Regions from separate parts of the Homo sapiens genome. Here region 2 is linked to region 1. The links are contacts of gene promoters, found by promoter capture Hi-C in human tissues and cell types (Jung and others, 2019). All regions are on one chromosome and are shown on one strand. The core of a region is centred on a gene start or on the middle of the fragment in contact, and the rest is flanking DNA. Distances in the headings are between cores, read along the strand shown. Region 1 holds the start of METTL21A (methyltransferase 21A, HSPA lysine). Region 2 overlaps C2orf80 (chromosome 2 open reading frame 80).

The links. The method cuts DNA at HindIII sites, captures the fragments that hold promoters and counts their contacts. A contact is called where the count stands out against the background at its distance.
Region 2: a contact is called between a fragment that was not itself captured here and the fragment with the promoter of METTL21A in region 1, in 1 of the 25 tissues and cell types used here (neural progenitor cells).

Annotation. Positions count from the first base shown.
Region 1 is chr2:207,623,283-207,626,840 of GRCh38, reverse strand. METTL21A (methyltransferase 21A, HSPA lysine) reads left to right here and starts at 1,447. Exons shown (of 4, transcript NM_001127395.5): 1 at 1,447-1,779; 2 at 2,437-2,612. The coding sequence starts at 2,466. RefSeq lists enhancers at 1-276, 277-981 and a silencer at 1,252-1,851. The HindIII fragment of the contact is 12,030 bases long and covers 1-3,558 here.
Region 2 is chr2:208,181,638-208,185,113 of GRCh38, reverse strand. It overlaps C2orf80 (chromosome 2 open reading frame 80), which reads left to right. Exons shown (of 9, transcript NM_001099334.3): 3 at 82-163; 4 at 2,067-2,149. Among named protein-coding and RNA genes, the nearest start is that of C2orf80, 6.7 kb to the left of the region's middle. The HindIII fragment of the contact is 7,429 bases long and covers 1-3,476 here.

The DNA.
Region 1 (3,558 bases), core at 198-2,697:
TGAGATGAGCGGATCACCGGAGATCAGGAGTTCAAGGCCAGCCTGGCCAACATGGTGAAGCCCCGTCTCTACTAAAAACACAAAAAAAGCCGGGTGTGGCGGCGGGCGCCTGTAATTCCAGCTACTTTGGAGGCTGAGGCAGGAGAACTGCTTGAACCCGGGAGGTGGAGGCTGCAGTGAGCCGAGATCGCGCCACTGCACTCCAGCCTGGCGACAGAGCAAGACTCCGTCTCAAACAAACAAACAAAATCCCACAAAAATTAGCTGGCGTGCTGGCGCAGGCCTGTAATCCTAGCTACACGGGAGAATGAGGCAGGAGAATCGCTTGAACCCGGAAGGCGGAGACTGCAGTGAGCCGAGTTCGCGCCCTTGCACTCCAGCCTGGGCGACAGAGAGAGACTCCGTCTCAAAACAAAAACAAAAACAAAAACAAAAGCAAAAAACCAAACAAAAAAATCAGCGCTCGGGCCCCCTCCCATGGCCAGCTCTTGGGGCGGGGGACTGGTAAGGGAGGTTTACCCCAGCTGGTTCTAACGTGCAGCCGCGCTGAGAGCGCAGCGGGCGGTGTGGGGCGAGGGGCCCCAGGAGGAAAAAGAAGCCTGCCCCGGGAGGATGCCGGTCCCCGCACGGTCCCACTCAATGGACCCACTCCAGCCGCGCGCTCTGCCAGGGCCTGCGGCCAGGGTACCAGGCCCTCGGCACCTTCCACGTCCAGCGTGGGTCCTCACGGGCAGGTGCGTCTTGGCATCGGGAGGAGGGAGACTGGGGCACTGGAGTCTGCAGCGCCGCCTGGGGCCGGGGCTGGAGCCGAGCGCACGCCCAGAGCTCCGCGCTTCCGACTGCAGCCAGAGCCCGCCGACCCCCGCCCCACTTTAAAAACTTGGACTCGGGCGCCACGTGTTCACTTCCCCCACTGTGCTTTAGTTGAAAAGGGTTTTGTGACTTTTCCACTCGATTGCCGCCAAGCGGGCTATTACGCCGCTTCTGACCCCACCGTGGAGACGCGGGGACTAGAGTGACCATGCCTTCTTCGGAGCGAGCTGTCTCCATCATCCGCTAACGCGCCACCTTTAAAAAACAGGCACAACGCGCAAGCGACAAAGTCAGAGGCAGAGAGCGGCGGAGCACATGATAGAAAAGGTCGAGAGGCACATTCAGCGCCAGGTGGGTGGCTTTTCTCTCCCGCTAGGAGAGCCCAGGGCACCCCATGCTCTCCCTGTGCACCCGCGGCAGTTCGGCACCCCGATCTCACTCTTGCTCCCGCCCCCACAGCGCCTCCCTCGGCGGCGGGGGAAACGGATTAAGTCGTCCGTGTACCCTGGGGACGCACGAGGGAAAGCCCCGGTCCCCCCTCCCGCAACGTCACTCCTCCACCGCGCCACGGCCCGGCCCCGCCCTCGCCGTGAGCTCCGGGGGCACCTGCCGGAGGCTGGGTGCCGGGAGACCGGAAATGCGTGGCTCCGGGCCGGGGCCGCCCGCCCCCGCGTCGCGGGCTCTTTAAGGCCGGCGGTTTTCGCAGCCAGCCCGGGGCGGGGAAAGCGGAGCGCGCGCTCCACGCGGGACCGCCTCCCGGGCCGTAAGTACCGGCGTGGCGGCGCCTCAGCCCGGCCTGGGCGAGCCCTGGGTGCTCCGCCGGGCAGCTCACGGCGCCCCGTATGGCCTGGGGATCCTAAGAGGCCCTGTGACCCCCCTCGCCTGGTCTCCCTCTCACCCCTGGAGGGTTGCCGCAGCTCCGGGGCCCCCGGGCAGGAAGGGCGCACTGGTCGTCCCGGGAGAGGGGTGAGTGGGGGGCAGCTATAGGGGGAGTTCGGGGAGGCCTCCGAGTCCCCGCTGTCCCCGCGAGCCGCTTGGAGGCCCCCAGTGTCGCTCACTTCCAGGGTCGGGGAGACGGAACTGCGGCGACCATGTATTTCTGGTTTATCAAACCGCTAACACCCAGTCTAAGGGCAGGTTCTGTCCCATTGTTATCACTATCGAAGCAGCCGATGGAGGAGGGGAGGTGGGTAGCGAAACCGTAGCGAAAGAACCCGGGCCGCCCGGCTGGCTGCAGCTGCAGTCCGGGCGCCCGGGTCTGGGTTGGAAGCGCTGCTTTCCGCGCTGCTCTGGGGCCCTGGGCGATCACCGCCGCTTCCGCCGCTTGTGTAGTTCTGAATTCACGGAGTGGTAGCAGTGCAGTGTATAGGGTATTCTGCGGAAGTTGGAATGTTCTGGGCTTTTTTTTTCTTCTTCCCCAAACACATCCGTTGACACAAATTCCGAGCCAAATCTCACTCAGATTCGGAAGAGCCATGCAAAAGAAATTGGACAAAGGCTTCCTCCACCTGTTTCTTTTTTTCTTTTGAACTTGTAAACGACCTTAAAAGCATTTGGAGTTAGTTAAGAACAGATAATGTATCTTTTGGCCAGAGCGTCACCCAGGATTCTTTTGCACGGCAGGTCTGAGCAGAGGGCGGGGTGCAGGCGGAATGGCCCTCGTGCCCTATGAGGAGACCACGGAATTTGGGTTGCAGAAATTCCACAAGCCTCTTGCAACTTTTTCCTTTGCAAACCACACGATCCAGATCCGGCAGGACTGGAGACACCTGGGAGTCGCAGCGGTGGTTTGGGATGCGGTAAGTAAGCCCTGGGGGACCTCTGAAAACGTTCACACTTGCAAGACTGGCTTTTATTTTTTATTTTTTTTAGAACAGCTTTATTGAGATATAATTCACATAGCATACACTTTACCTATTTAAAGTGCACAATTCAGTGCGGTTTTAAAAATACAGTATATTCACAGAGTAGTGCAACTATTACCGCTTCAATTTTAAAAGTTTTACTATCACTGCCACTCTCAAACCCGTATCCCTTAGTCACTCCTCTTGTCCCTCCACATAGATTACATTTTAAAGGTGTAAATGAAAGCTGAGGAAAGTTAATGACTTGTCGGAGAGGATAGGAAGGAAAGCCCCCAACTGCTTTGGACACGAGTTAGTCTTTTTTTCTTTTGAGACATAGTCTCGTTCTGTTGCCCAGGCTGGAGTGCAGTGGTGCGATCCTGGCTCAATGCAGCCTCCGCTTCCTGGGTTCAAGTGATTCTCCCACCTCAGCCTCTGGAGTAACTGGGGCTACAGGTGCACGCCACCACACCTGGTTAATTTTTGTATTTTTTGGTAGAGATGGGGTTTCGACATGTTGGCCAGGCTGATCTGGAACTCCTGACCTCAAGTGATCCACCTGCCTCAGCCTCCCAAAGTGCTGGGATTACAGGCGTGAGCCACAGCGCCCAGCCGAGTTAGTCTCTTTATTTCACAGAGTATTGTAAAGTGGCAGAGCCCAAAATGGAGATTATGTGTTTTCTTTAAGTTTTCCATAGTTGTAATTGTTAAAAAATTGTAACTGCTTTTTAACTTCTTCCTCTCCCTGCCCTGTTCTGACTTGAGCCCTCAGCATCTAGCCCCACACCTAGGACTCAGTGGGAACTCAATTAATGTTGAATGCATGATTGGCATAAATACAGTTTGACAGTTTTAACATTGTTAGGGATGTTAAACACGTAGGAATAAAAATCTCAATATA
Region 2 (3,476 bases), core at 518-3,017, 560 kb before region 1:
GGATGGGAAAAAAAAAAGCCTTTTTCTGCAGACTGAGCCCGTGTCACTCCAATGGTTCAATGCTGCTCTCTTGCTTTTAAGGGGAGATTATATTGGCATCAGACTTCGGGAAAATGAATTTGACCCAAAAGGAAGACGGCAACTCACCTTTCTAGATGATATGGTAAAGAAAGGCACGCTGATGCGAGTCATATTTGTGTTATATGTGTATTAAAGAGACAGAAAAAGGATCTTATTTATACAATAAACAAGGCTAATATTGACACCCATCCCCCAAATGTCCTCTTCCTCATCTTCCCCTCACCCTGAGATTGTTCATATGGTCATTTCAACCCACTAACCAGAAAGCAAAGAGAATGAGAAAATAAAAATCATGAGAGTTATTTGCTATTAGGAAAGAAGATTAAAAATCAAAATTAATGCCAGGCAAAATGTTACGTCTGTGGAGTTAAGAGTTTGACAAAATTAGCTATCATGTAGTTCTCAAAATAATTTCTTTACCATTTGCATTAGTGAGAGAAAACCAAATAAATTAAGTAACCCTAAAAATCCTTGGTGTTATTTATTTCGAAGCCCAGACTCAGGATCTGAAAGTTCACGTCACAGAAATTGAGGAAGAAACCATATAAAGATCTAACTCAAAAGAAATTAGCAAACCCTCAGTTTTTTCACTGCCCATTTACTATCCTTACACTAATAAAAAAGACTCTCTCCCTCCACTCCCCTCTCCTCTTCTTCTCCGACTAAAGTAGAGCCAGGCTCACTGGCTTTCAAAACTACCCTGGAGCTAAGGAAATAGTTAAGCCTTATTCTCTGTGTACACATATTAAACAGAGAAATTAAGTAGATTAGAGCAGTGCTTCTCAAACTTTAATGAGGTCGTATTACAAGGCTGTTTTGATTCAGGAGGTGAAGGGGGGCGGGGGTGAGGGGGGCGCCCCCGCGGCCTAGGAATTTGCATTTCAAATGACCAAACAAGTGATGCCAAGGCATCAAACTTTGGATCCGGTTGCAACATTTGGTCATGGTCCCATTCTTCCTGTTTATTTATTCATTTAGGTTCACTGTTCAGTTTGGTTCAGTCCCTGGAAGAAATAATTCCACCGTTTAAAAATGTTAAAACTTCAGAACGCCTCTACAAAAATTAAAAACAAAACCAATCTTCCGTTTTCTGTGTGTGGGGACTGAAAGGAGAGAAGGAATATTTTGATAGACAAATGGTAAATATGCTTACTGAACAAGAACTCTTAGGAATTACTAGGAAAAGGTGGTCACCATGATAAAAATAAGCCTCCGCATTGGTTCTCAGCTTTTTACTATACGTGCGTGTGAAACTCTCAGCAAGTCACTTACTCAGGTCTGCCCCCTTCCCCGCCCGCTCCGTCCTTGCCTCATGCTAGTTCCTCTACCTGTGATTTCCTTCCCCATCTGTAGACATTCTCATCCCACAAGCCCCAGCTCCAATGCAGCTTCCCTCTCTGAAGCTTCTTGGGATTCTAGCTATCTCCCCAGGTAGACATAAAACGGCCCATCCCTCCAAATTCCCACCACACTGCCCCTGTACCCCTGGAAGCACATTTCTGACATTCTACTCACAGAATCAGAAATTGTTCCCTGCAGCCCTGTTCCCCCACCCTTACCTTTTACTATGTTAAAATTTAGGGAAACTGAGGCCCAGAAAGCATCAGTTACTCACCTAAGAATATTCCGTGAGTTGTTGGCAATACCTAGATTTGAGCCCAGATTTTCTGATTCCAAGTTTATTATTCTTCACTGATCTCTCCTTTCTTTTCCAAATCACAGAAATCAGATAACTGCTCTAGTGGAAATAAATTTAATGTCTCAAGATCCCAAAATATTTCTGGCTGATTCATCCCTGTGAGGCGAGGTCTCAGAAAAAAAAAAAAAAATCTGGCCGAGCATCAGGTTATTAAAGCTAATGATCCTTCCCATTTTGGACATGACAGACTAGAATAGGCTTAGCAGTCCCATTGTCATTGGGTCCAGGGAGTACTTCGGCCAATGTCTAAGCCTGTTTCTTTGCTCTCTGTGCTTCCTGCTCCCAGGCACACTATGACTTGGCCATCAGTGTTGCTTTGCAATGGCTGGATCCCTCAGAAGACTTAACTTGGCTGGAGTGGGAGGAACTGTAAGTTGAAGTAGGTTTGTTGCTTTCCTCTTTAATTTGTGCCTATGATTAATGATAGAGGAAGTTCCAGCCCTAACATCTTCCATCATGAGGCACTTTGATTTGAAAACACTACTGGGTGAATATCCCTCTTCAACGAGACACCTGAGGAACCTGAACAGTTGCCAACTTGAAGAAGTTACATGTTTCCATGTTTTGCATCTCTATACTAATTGACTTCAGTGAGATGAAAGACTTTCTTGCACAGAATGTTGTGTCTTAAGGGGCCGGGCGCGGTGGCTCAGGCCTGTAATCCCAGCACTCTGGGAGGCTGAGGCAGACTCATTACTTGAAGCCAGGAGTTCAAGACCAACCTGGACAATATGGTAAAACCTCGCCTCTATTAAAAATACAAAAATTCGCCTAGCGTGGTGGCGCACACCTGTACTCAGGAGGCTGAGGCAGGAGAGGAGAATCACTTGAACCCAGGAGGCAGAGGTTGCAGTGAGCCAAGATTGTGCCACTTCACTCCAGCCTGGGCAACAGAGTGAGACTCCATCTCAAAAATAAAGAATGCTCTGTCTTAGAAACATGACTGCTTTACTATGTACATGCCATGATTTAAAACAGTCAGTTCTATGGGTAAAGACTGTAACCTTTTCCTAAGGACTACCAAACAAATTCTTAAGCATTTAGGCAGACATGTATCTGAGCTGAGCTGTTTGAAGCGCAGAATAATTTTCTTTCTGGGATTACCAGCATTTTCTGTCATGTATAGGGAGTGTTCAGGCAGACTCACTCAATTGGTAAGAACACAGAACTAATGAGGACAGGATCAAATAGCTTATTCTGGAGGCCTGTTATTTTTTTTCTACTCAATGGCTCTGGACTACACACCTGATCCTAGAGAGTTGTAACAGTTAGGGTTTAGCTGTAATGACCAATTTGAAAATCCAATTGAAAATCCAATTTGAACAGCCTTAAGCAAAAAAGCTGGGGAGTAGATTTTATTGCCCTTGTATCTGAAAAGTCCATGGGTAGGACTGTGTTAGGCATGGTTTAATTCAAAACTCAAACAATGTCATCTGGATCTACCTCCTGACTCCATTTCCTCAGGGTGAACACCATTCCTAGTTTCAGCCCATTTCATTATCGGGGAAGGGTGGATATATTTTTTTTTAATCACCCAATTGTGTCTCAGTGGCTGTTACCTGGCTTGTCTAGGGTTGGACAGTGGCAGCGCAGGGGAGGTGGAATACGCTGACAGCTCAGTCCACAGTGTGTTTTTCATCTTTGGAATCTAGGGGTGTAGTCAGCTTCCCTAGAAGCATATAGGCTTACAGTGGGG